Linked DNA regions of Homo sapiens: region 1 is linked to region 2. Evidence: promoter capture Hi-C in 16 types of primary human blood cells and fetal thymus (Javierre and others, 2016). All regions are on one chromosome and are shown on one strand. The core of a region is centred on a gene start or on the middle of the fragment in contact, and the rest is flanking DNA. Distances in the headings are between cores, read along the strand shown.

What was found. Contacts are between HindIII fragments. The CHiCAGO score rates a contact against its expected background, and 5 or more counts as called.
Region 1: a fragment that was not itself captured here is called in contact with the fragment with the promoter of UBR5 in region 2 in 1 of 17 cell types (fetal thymus); the score reaches 5.1 in fetal thymus.

The regions. Positions count from the first base shown.
Region 1 is chr8:102,851,720-102,857,544 of GRCh38, reverse strand. The region is part of intron 2 of AZIN1 (antizyme inhibitor 1); the gene reads left to right. Among named protein-coding and RNA genes, the nearest start is that of AZIN1, 9.5 kb to the left of the region's middle. The HindIII fragment of the contact is 6,144 bases long and covers 916-5,825 here.
Region 2 is chr8:102,409,500-102,415,650 of GRCh38, reverse strand. It overlaps UBR5 (ubiquitin protein ligase E3 component n-recognin 5), which reads left to right and starts at 2,951. Exons shown (of 59, transcript NM_015902.6): 1 at 2,951-3,478. The coding sequence starts at 3,417. LOC105375683 (a long non-coding RNA gene) reads right to left here and starts at 3,312. Exons shown (of 5, transcript NR_168428.1): 1 at 2,640-3,312. RefSeq lists enhancers at 1,537-1,586, 1,687-1,796, 2,358-2,627, 3,002-3,780, 3,781-4,559 and 2 more and silencers at 2,778-2,977, 3,008-3,087, 3,148-3,587. The HindIII fragment of the contact is 11,584 bases long and covers 1-6,151 here.

The DNA of each region.
Region 1 (5,825 bases), core at 2,738-5,237, 440 kb before region 2:
TATAGATATTTAACAGATTTTCAAGGATAGTTTTTGACTATACTTGGTTTTCTATGTGTGAATTTTACTTTAGAATTGAGCCCCTGTGCAAAATGTAATTCCACAGTAAACTGAATTTGGGCTACTAGATTTGTGTGGGTTCATTTAAAAATTTTGTGGTATATAGACTTATTGTTACGGAAATTCAGATTTTGTTATTAAAATTTAAGTGTTTTTAAGTTTGGTCAGAGACTTAGAGGTAAGTTTTCAGGAAAGCTGAGGGTATCAGTTTTAGTGTTTCTTTAATCTGATCTTGTTAAACAGATCCCTATTCGATAAAAGTGTTTGCTCTAAGCAAACATTTGATGTTAATACAAATTAGAATTTTAGACTCAGGTTTTTAAGGCTAAAGAGAAGGAAACACAGTTTAAATAGTAAGATTTCTTGAAACCTTTGACTTAGAATGTTGGCTAGAGGGTTTCCTATACTGGCTTTCTCCTACCTGTGTAAATTTGAGCAAATGTGAATCCCAGCTATAACATAATGTTGGACTGGAACAGTTCTTTTTGTGTTAAACTGGCATAATTTCTTTTTTTGAGTGTATTACTGTCCTTGGTTATGCAGTGTAGTCTTCGGACGAATTGCATTAGCATCCTCACCTAGAACAGAAATACAGAATCTCAGCCTCACCCAAACCTGAATCAGAGTCTATATCCAGGTGGCTTGTGTGCACATTAAAGAGAAGCAGGGTCATTGCTGTTTCAATACTAAGTCAGTTGCCTAATTTTTGTTAGTCCATCTGTTCTATTTGCAACATACCTGATGTTTTTCTCCCAAGTTGACTTGGAGATATAAAACCTTTTTGGGTGGTGCAATCTGTTAAAGTTAACATCATAGTTGTGAATCCATTCTAAGGCAGAAATTTAAGAACAAGCTTCGTCTTTTGAGGAAGACCGTAATAAAAGATAATCCTTCTTTTAATTCGTGTCTCTTGCTTTAAAGAAAAGTTACCTTGCATTATAGTTAATATTTCTACTGGTGTTTCCTCTTAGAAACTTGAGAGACTATTGTCAGTGAGCTGAATGATTCTGCAAAATCAGGGAAAAGTAGTCTTTAGATTAATAATGTAGGATTCAGAAAGTCTATAGTGTCTCCCTCTTTGTGGGTAGGAGGGAATGGGAGCAGATAGAAGCTAAAGATAATTTATTCTGCAGGTTCTGGCAGTCAGAATAACTGGCTTTTAACTTTATTATGCCCGGGTACAATGCATATTATGTCAAACAAATATAACTTCTTTAAATATTCACATGTAATCTTCTCATTTTGCATGTCTAGTATTTGATGCTTTGCTATAAAGCTACAGGTCCACAATCCCTTTTTCATAGAATTCTGAAATCCAAAAAGTCTTTAAAAAAATTTTTTTATAGCTTCCTTGATGTGACCTTAACTGATTTGGGAAAAAAAAAAAAAAACAAAAAAAACTTGACCTGGATCTGTGCTGATTTGAGGCTATTTTTGTCTTTACTTATCCCATTTAGTGTTAATATTCCTAAATTTTGCTTCAGAAATATTGTGGTTGCAGGGTGCTGACTCATTCTCCTGAAGAATATTACATAACATATGTAAAGTATGTGTACTACATTATGGTTCAAAATCTGGAGAATTCTGAATTCACAAAGATACCTAGTCCCAAAGGTTTCTTGACTAGAATTTGTAAAATTGGCAAGAGAAAATTCCGCATTCCAGAAATGTGTTATCCTTACAAATCAATAAGAGTTTGCTCTATTGGACACCGAAATCCTGGGGTTAATTTTCTGTAGATCAACAATATTATTTGAAAACCATTAAAAGGAGTTAAAACAGCTTCATGGAAATTATTTGGCCCATAGCATTGCAAAGCATGTAGCTATATGAACTCTGCTTGAACTGGTCCACTAGGATTCCCGTGCAGGTAGTCTGAGATCCAGAATTGGCTTCAGAGTTAGGTTTTAAATCAACCACCTGAATTTTGATGGAATAAACTAAGTATCTGGAAATTTTGGAAGTTGCTTACATAATCCTTTTCTTTCATAATTTAGAATGTGTGTATGATGTAGTACGCAAACACTGTAAAAATGTCTTAACAAAATATTTTAAGGTCAATATCAAAGATTAATGGGCCCCTAATTGTGAAAAAGTTTTTGTGAGCCTTTTGAGAAATCCCCTAGGCCAGGTGAGGTGGCTCACACCTGTAATCCCAGCACTTTGGGAGGCCAAGGCGGGCGGATTACATGAGGTCAGGAGTTCAAGACCAGCTTGGCCAACATGGTGAAACCCTGTCTCTACTAAAAAAAAATATAAAATTAGTCGAGCGTCGTGGCAGGTGCCTGTAATGCCAACTACTCGTGGGAGGCTGAGGCAGGAGAATCACTTGAATCTGGGAGGCGGAGGCTGCAGTGAGCCGAGATCGTGCCATTGCACTTCAGCCTAGGCTACAACAGCAAATCTCCGTCTCAAAAAAAAAGAAATCCCCTAGGTCTTGATGCTGGAGTAAAGGTTTTCCAGTGGGCTAGTTTTCTATTTATTTTGGTTGTAGGTTTAATTATAATTAATGAATTAGCCTAATGGAAAATATTTTAAAACTTAAAAAGCTAAGTTTGCTTCTCATAGTGGATCCAGTGATGTGGTCAGATTCATTATCACATACCCTTTAATGTTGTGCAGTATGGAAAAGGGATTCAGTTAATTGATTTGCTTAAATGGGCTCTTAACAAGTTTGCTTTAAAAAGTTTTTTTTTTTACCTGGTTGTCATTAGTCGGCTCTATATATTCATGTAGGAACTTCAGAAGAACATCAGCATTTTAAATATTCACATTTTGTCTCCTAATCTTTAGTATTTACACATGCCTTAGTAGGAGCTCCCTACCTAATTAGGATTATTTTAACTAGGGAAAAAAAATATATATATATATATATATTTTTTTTTTTTTTGACAGAGTCTCCTCCTTTCGCCCAGGCTGGAGTGCAGTGGCACAATCTTGGCTCACTGCAACCTCCGCCTCCCTGGTTCAACTGATTCTTCCGCCTCAGCCTCCCAAGTAGTTGGGATTACAGGCACCCACCATTATGCCCGGCTAAATTTTGTATTTTTGTGGAGATGGGTTTCACCATGTGGCCAGGCTGGTCTTGAACTCCAGACCTCAGGTGATCCGCCCCCCTTGCCTCCCAAAATGCTGGGATTATAGGCGTGAGCCACCGCGCCTGGCTGGAAAGATGTTCTTTACGAATTTGCTAGTACTCCTTCCTCATGTTTCACTGTAAGTTATCAGTAGGAAAGGGAGGTTGTCCGCTGGGTGCGGTGCCTCACACCTATAATCCCAGCACTTTGGGAGGCTGAGGCCGGCAGATCATCTGAAGTCAGGAGTTTGAGACCAGCCTGGCCAATATGGTGAAACCTTGTCTCTACTAAAAATACAAAAATAAATTAGTTGGGCATGGTGGTGCACGCATGTAATCCCAGCTACTAGGGAGGCTGAGGCCTGCTTGAACCCGGGAGGCGGAGGTTGCAGTGAGCCAAGATGGTGCCACCGCACTGTAGACTAGGAGACAGTGCAAGACTGTCTCAAGGGAAAGGGAGGTTGTTGACCCTGACTGCAGAGAAAGGGGAAAATTTCAGTTTTGATATTTGGTACTTTTTTTTCTTTTCTCCCCCCACCCCCCGATTTAATTTCTCACAGATGATATTTGGTACTTTAAGGATACTGTGATATGAGCAAATGTAACAGAACATTCATTAATGGCGGTTGATACTCTTTGACCAAAAAGATGAGTAAAACCACTATCGTTGAAATACACAGTCTGTATATCCCCTTGGCATACATAAAGTAGAGTCAATGGTGTGTCAGTGCTTGTGTAAAGTAGCAGAAAAATATTCTGTAAAAGCACAATGTGAATACTAGCATATTAATGGATAAACAAGGTTTTAGAGACATGGTATTTCTTGCTTTGAGCAAATTTAGCATTTTTTTTAGGAAGGTCAAAAAGATTGGAAAGCAACGTAGACCAGTTTTTTCTTTCTTTTTTGAGACGAAGTTTCGCTCTTGTTGCCCAGGCTAGAGTGCAGTGGCGCGATTTCAGCTCACTGCAAACTCCACCTCCCGGGTTCCATCAATTCTCCTGCCTCAGCGTCCTGAGTGGCTGGTATTATAGGCATGCACCACCATGCCCGACTAATTTTGTATTTCTAGTAGAGACAGGGTTTCACCATATTGGTCAGACTTGTCTCGAACTCCTGACCCCATGATCCGCCTTCCTTGGCCTCCCAAAGTTCTAGGATTACAGGCATGCGCCACTGCGCCCGACCATAGACCAGTTTTTAAACGGGATAAATGGCTTTTGCATTTATTACAGAGGTTAGTTTAGCTGAGAAAATTAATACTGACTACCAATCTGTGTGTTCCATCACAGTCTTCACCCAACCTGATCTTGTTTCAGAGTTTTCCAGTTTGGGTCTCCCCATACCCCACCCCAGGTAAACCAATCCCTTTTGCGATATTTAACTTCCATTAGAATAAATGAGATATTGCATCTATGAAAAAGGCTTGTAAACCTTAAAATCTAGTATATGGCAGGCTACTGTTCTAAACTGGCCATTGTTCAGATAAGCCTAAGGAGACTCTTCCAAGTTGAAGTGCTTACATACTGGTGAGGCCCCAGGGAGCACAGATATTTTGTCCTTCCTCCATTCCAGGGACATCCATGCCCAGTCAAATCAAGCAATTTGTCACAAGTTAACTAAAGCAGATATTTAGCTCTCCTTTTCGTTAATCCACTGTTTTTTACATTATGCATGAGTAGAAAATACTGTGTAGCATACTGGGTTACGGGGATTAGGATAGTCAGGTTCAACCTGCCCAGGCCATAGCCAGCCATCATGAGGTCCAGCCACGTTGTGCATGCCACCACGCCCTGCTAATTTTTGTATTAAAAAATTTTTTTTTTACTATTATTTTTTTGAGATGGAGTTTCACCTTTGTTGCCCAGGCTGGAGTGCAGTGGTTCAGTCTCACTGCAACTTCTGCCTCCTTAGTTCAAGCAATTCTCCTGCCTCAGCCTCCCAAGTAGCTGGAATTACAGGCACACACCACCATGCCCAGCTAATTTTGTATTTTTAGTAGAGACAAGGTTTCGCCATGTTGGTCAGGCTGGTCTCGAACTCCTGACCTCAGGTGATCTGCCCTCCTCAGCCTCCCAAAGTGCTGGGATTACAGGCGTGAGCCACCATGCTTGGCAGTATGAGCTTTATGTTGACTTCAGATTACTTTTTATCTGCTTCTTGCTCTTTACTGCAAGGATCCTCTGATGCCCAGTTTGCAAAGATCTCCTAAACAAGTATGGTATCTTCTTAGCTCATGTAGGTTCAGCATGAACATGTTATATTTGGCATGACCAAAGGTAGGATGGGGTTATCCTGGTATGTTCAACATGGAAATTCTGACAAAACAATCACCCCAAAAATAATACTCCTAATGAGAGGTTTGCTATCCTAAATTCATGAAGAGCTCCTTCAGATAAATAAAAGGCAAAAACAAGAAACTGAGCAAAAGACTTGAAAACTGTTTGCCACTAACAATCTAGCAGTTCCAGTCCCAGGTATAGACTGTAGTCCCTAGATCAGTGCTACTTAAACTGCCAGCCAGTGGAATAAGGACTCTAGTACTAGAATGTAAAGTACCACATTGCCCAACACTGTTTTAGGGTCACATAGAAGAATAAAACCATTAAGTAACAAAGGAATGATGATTAGAGAAGGTCTAAACAAATTCTAAGGGAGAGGTACAGGGGCCTCTGAGATATTACATCTTAT
Region 2 (6,151 bases), core at 1,702-4,201:
GGGTCGATCGCTTGAGCCCAGGAGATCAAGACCAGCCTGAGCAACATGGCAAAACCCCGCCTTTACAAAAAATACAAAAATTAGCCAGGCGTGGTAGCCTGTGCCTGTAGACCCAGCTACTCGGGAGGCCAGTGCAGGAGAATTGCTTGAGCCTGCTAGGTGGAGGTTGCAGTGAGCCGAGGCCATGTCACTGCACTCCAGCCTGGGTGATGGGAGTGAAATCCTGCCTCAAAAAAACAAAAACAAAAACAAAAACAAAAAAAAAAACTGGAACATAGCACCAGACAAGTAAATGTTTCCATTTGCTGAGCCTACTATGTATATGAACTGTCCTAGGTGTCTGACATACATTATCTTATTTAGATCTCACTGCAACTCTGTGTAGATAGATCTATTAGTATGGAATATTTAACAAATGAGGAAAAAAGATGCAATGATAGGTTAAATCTAACTAATTTTTTTTTAAGACAGATTCTCATTCTGTCGCCCAGGCTGGAGTGCAGTGGCACAATCTTGGCTCACTGCAACCTCCACCTCCCGGGTTCGAGCAAGCAATTCTCCTGCCTCAGCCTCTGGAGTAGCTGGGACTACAGCCACACCAACACTCCTGGCTAATTTTTGTATTTTTAGTAGAGACAGGGTTTCACCATGTTGGCCAGGCTGGTCTCAAACTCCTGACCTCAGGTGATCCACCCACCTCGGCCTCCCAAAGTGCTGGGATTATGGGCGTGAGCCAGTGCACCCGGCCAAATCTAACTAATCTAAATCCAAGTAAGGCCACGTAGTTAAGTAGCAGAAACAACTGAAATTTAGATCTGGGCTGGGCGCAGTGGCTCACGCCTGTAATCCCAACACTTTGGGAGGCCGAGGTGGGTGGATCACCTGAGGTCAGGAGTTCGAGACCAACCTGGCCAACATGGTGAAACCTTGTCTCTACTAAAAATACAAAAATTACCCAGGCATGGTGGCAGCGCCTGTAATCCCAGCTACTCGGGAGGCTGAGGCAGGAGAATCACTTGAACCCAGGAGGCGGAGGTGGCAGTGAGCCAAGATCGTGCCATTGCACTCCAGCCTGGGCGACAGAGCAAAGACTCCGTCTCAAAAAAAAAAAATTTTTTTTAGATCTGTTTGGCTTGAAATCTAGCAGTGTCTACTGGTCTACCTTCCTTCCTCAGGGCTCCCAGGGACATCTAATAGTGACCTTGAAATCACTTTTTAGTCTAAACTAATCTGGGCCAATGGTTGAGCTGGTAACCTACAAAAGTGTTCCATTATCTGCCTTGAGGGTACCAGGTCTGTCCTGATTTGTAAGTATTTTTTCATAAATTTTGCTCAGAAGAACTTCCTAAGCAAAACTGTGTGTGTGTGTGTGTAATTCATTAACAGACCACCTCTGTAGAAGGAATGTCATGTTCTCAGTTTTTGCCTTCGAAGAGGTACTTTATTTTTTAAAGGAGGTCATAGAAACCTTTGAGAAGAAAGTCATGAATTGGTTCCTTAGGGAAAAAAAAACAGACTTATTTGATTAAAAAAAATTTTTTTTTGAGATGGAGTCTCGTTCTGTTGCCCGGGCTGGAGTGCAGTGGCATGATCTCAGCTCACTGCAACTTGCCAGGTTCAAGCAAGTCTTCTGCCTCAGCTTCCTGAGTAGTGGGGTTTACAGGCGCGCACAGCCATGCCTGGCTAATTTTTGCATTTTTAGTAGAGATGGGGTTTCACCAAGTTGGCTAGGCTGGTCTCGAACTCCCAACCTCAGGTGATCCGACATCCTCGGCCTTCCAAAGTGCTGGGATTACAGGCGTGAGCCACTGTGCGCCGTGGCCAAAACTCTGAAAGTGTCTTATAGTAGAAACTCGGTATAAAAGATCCTATCTCGGCCAGGCGTGGTGGCTCAGGCCTGTAATCCCAGCACTTTGGGAGGCCGAGGCGGGTGGATCACCTGAGGTCAGGAGTTCGAGACCAGCCTGGCCAACATGGTGAAACCACATCTCTACTAAAAAAGAAATACAAAATTAGCCGGACGTGGTGACACATGCCTGTAATCCCAGCTACTCCATAGACTGAGACAGGAAAATCGCTTGAACCCGGGAGGCGGAGGTTGAGGTGAGCCGAGACCGCGCCATTGCACTCCAGCCTGGGCAACAAGAGCGAAACTCCGTCTCGGGGAAAAAAAAAAAAAAAATAATAATTTTCCGTTCTGATTCCACTGATCATAAATTGAACTCCTTTGTAGAACAGGTTTATCATCTTTCATTTAAAAGTAATAAAAAATCACGAATCATTTATATCAGGAAATTAGTGGAAATTTCCACATTTTGTCTTTGGGCATGTGATGGTGGTGAGGAAACTGGGGAGACCGAGGTAATAGAAGTTGCTGCAAAGCCAACTCCAGGATCCTACTATCTCCTTCTGGAAAGGCCCTTACATAATTTCCTTACTTTTCCAATAAAAGGCTGTATATGTCTTGCCCCTTAACTGATTTTACCAACTTCACCATAAATACAACTGCGGATGAAGGATGAGAAGCAACAAGAAACCCCTAAGGATCCGCCAAATAATTAGGGCTGCCCCAGGGGAATCCGAGCGAAAGAACACAAGAGCCCCTCTTCCTCCTCGCCTCCTCTGGGACACACACTTACCCTCCCTCCCGGCAGGTTAGCCCGCAGCCTCCTCCTTCCCTAACACGTGCTCTCCGGAACACTCACTCTGGAGACATCCCACCCCCGGCGGGGCTGGGCTCGGGAGCCGAACGGACCAATCGGCACGCGCCTTACAGCGTCGTGGCCCGACAACGTTGAGCAGCCCAATCGAGGGGGCCTTGCCGCCCGTTTCCCGGAGCCCCGCCTCTCGCCGCCGCGCCCCCGCCCGCCGGTCTCCTCCCTCCTCCTCCTCCCGTTTGCCCCTCCCCCGCCGCTCCGGAGCGGAGCCTGCGAGACGGAGAAACTGGGGCAGAAGTGAAGATGGCGGCGGCAGCTTCTCGCTAGTGACGCGCGGTGCGGGCTCATCTCCTTCCCCTCCTTCCTCACCTCCCCTAGTCCGGACCCCGTCCGCCGCCGGGACCAGACCGTCCCCGTAGCCCGCAGCCAGCAGCCGCCCCTCTCCTCCCCCGGCCGCCCCTCTCCCAACGCCCGTCTGCCGCTGGCCGGCGGCGCGCCCCTGGTCCCGGCCGCCTGCCTCGCACTCCGCGCTGTCGCCGGGGGAGCGGGTGGCGTGTGGATTCGCCCTCCTGCCCGCCCCTCCGGGCCGCGGACACACGCCCGGCAGGGAGGCGGCGGCGGCCCCTGCGTATTTGCTTCCCTCCATTTGGGGACTGGGAGGCGGCGGCGGCTGTGGGTTTTGGGGAGGGGTAGAGGGCTGGGGGGCGGGCGAGAGCGGGAGGGGGCCGCCCTCGAGTGGAGGACGAGAAGGAAAGCACCATGACGTCCATCCATTTCGTGGTTCACCCGCTGCCGGGCACCGAGGACCAGCTCAATGACAGGTAATAGGGCTGGCGGGTCGGCGGGCGCGGGGGGAGGGGCGCCCTTCCCTCCCTCCCCTCCCCCACGGGCCGTGCCGGGCGGGTGCGGGTGTTTACGCGCCGGCCGGCCAGCTGGGGTGGGGTGCGGGGGTCCTTACTGCCTCCTGCTAGGCTCCTTCCGGGGCAAACTTCTCATCCCGGGGGCAGGGGGCCGCGGGGGGAGCGCGGTGTAGACGGGACTCGCGGTGTAGACTGGAGAGCGCTCTGTAAACCCCCTTCCCCCTCCCGCAAGGAGCGGCGTTGAACTCGGCGGAGATGGGGGGGTGGTTTCTGGCTCCCGGGGGGCAGGCGGTAATTACTGCCCGGCCAAGGCCCGAGGAATCCATATTAGTCAAAGTTGAATTGAGACAGACAATGCGGATGGGGGATGGTGGAGGTAAAAAGAGAGGGAAGAGGAGAAGCGGGGCCAGGGGCCCCGGGGTGGGCTGGGCTGGGCTTGTCCCGGGCCCCCGGCAGCTGTGTCCGGTGGGGTGGTCTGGACCTGGGGATCCCGGGGTCGGGTTGGGGAGAGAAGCCGATTCCCGGCAGATTGCTGGGAGCGGGCGGGGGGTGGGGGGAAGGTGATAGTTGGGGGAGGGAGTGAGGGAGGAAGCGCCATGATTATTGTTATTATTATTAAATTTGAGCCCCTGCAGTGAGGTTTGCCTGCCCCGGGAGGGGATGGATTCAAGCGGGGGTGGGGAAGTGCATTGGATTCCCTTTACTCTCCTCCTGAAATGGTGCTGGCAGCTCCTGCTACTAGCCCCTGTGGTGCGAGCTTTTTTGTTTCCTTTTCTATTCTAATGATAGTGTTTTCCTGAGTTGTAATTTGACAGCTGAAAACCGTGCGTAGAGTGTCAAAGGAAAACTCTTACGTTTGCAGTTCGCAATGCTGCTTTTCTTAACACGCTGTAAATTTCTGGGTTGGGTTTGCTATGGGCGGAGGATGAATTATGATTTTATTTTATGTTTTGTCTTTTATAGGCTGTTTTGGTTTGGATTTCTCCTTTTCTTCCGCCACCGTTCCTTGCCAGTTTAGGATATTGAATTGCAGTGCCGCATGCTCTCAGGGAACTGAGATAAGGCAGGAAAAGTTCCTTCACTGTTGGAAAACAGACTCAGGAGGTTGAGGGAGGCCTCCATTAAAGCATGTCTTAGAATCTAAGACTCAGATCTAATGATGGGCTAAATGTTTACAGGATCACAAAGTGGAGCATTTTAAGTCTTCCTCTCTCCCAGTACTTCACTGCTCTCTACATTTCTTTTGCGTATAGAAGGCCATCTGGTCCCAAGTTTAGAAGTTACATAGAATTTTTGCTAAGTGACCGGGTGACTTAAGTTGCATGATGCCCTGTTTGTCATGCGCTTCCCAGAGGGAGGAAGAGGCCTAACTTGCTGCTGAGATACTGGCCTCTTGTGTCAGTGTATCTAACCGCCTCAAGTGGAGCAGACAGCTTTTAAATCCAGAGCTGGCGGTTTAGTTTCTGCACTTGGTTCGGATTTGCCTAATCTTTGCTGTAGCCATATTGTATTTAACATGTTTGGGAATCTTTTGAAATACTTACTGAAAATACTAACTACTCAGAGTTGTCACATAGTTCCTTTAAATTCTGAAATAACTTTTTAGTTATTTAACATTTTGTTATGTGGTTCTTAGCCTGACTTTACTTCATTAAAGATCTTTTGGAGACATTAACATAAAATTTTTTGGTAAAATTTAGAAACAGGCTAGTAGTGAGGATAGCTCTACGGTCATTAACAGAACCATGTTGGTAGTGCTTGTCTTGTTACTTAGAAAACCGCACCAGAGAGAAGAGAGGTAGGGCATGTTTTCTATATTAGTCCTAACTTTATGTACCAAGAAACCTGACTAGCTTACTCAGTTGGCTGTGCATGCCAAAACCTATTTTGCGGTTGTGTTGGGCACTTTGATTCATTTTTGAGCATTCCTTTTGCTTCAGCTATTTGAGAAATTTACAAGTAATGTATCTTTTTAAATGCTAACTCTTCTTTTTCCATTCCTAGTATAAACAATCAGCTTTGTTTGATTCTTCTATCATTATACAACATTAAAAATATTTAGATCATAGTGACTTTTAATTTCATGAAATTAGGAAAAAAGTAGACTTGAGTCATAACATGTGCATCAAGGTGGCAGATATTTGAAAAATAGAAAGGTGCCGTAGGTGAAATTATAAAGAGCTATATGGTTGTATCTAGTAGCGGTAAACATGTCTTGCCTTTTGAGATTTGTGAAGGCAGCATTTAAGATAGGCACATATCCTAAGTTTTGAAGTAGCTGATTTGTGGCAGGAGCTGTTCTGTGTTTCCCTTTCAAAAGGAGGGCTCCTTTTTGCATACCTACTTGTAATAGGATCAACCTGTCACTTGAGAAAAATCTGTTTCCAAAAGAGACTGGTTTTCTGGAACCTTTTAATTAACTAGAATAAGCGTATTTTCATCTAAAGATAAAAACTTTACCAAGTTTTAGTAAGTTGGGGCAATAAAAAAGCTACTGCTACTGTAGCTTGACTTTTTTTATTATGAGAAATGTATGAGAGTCACAAATAAAATGATAATCATAGTTATGTATGAAAAGGGTGTAAATAGACTTTATACTTTGGAATAAAAGTAGTAAGATTAGACAGGCAGAAT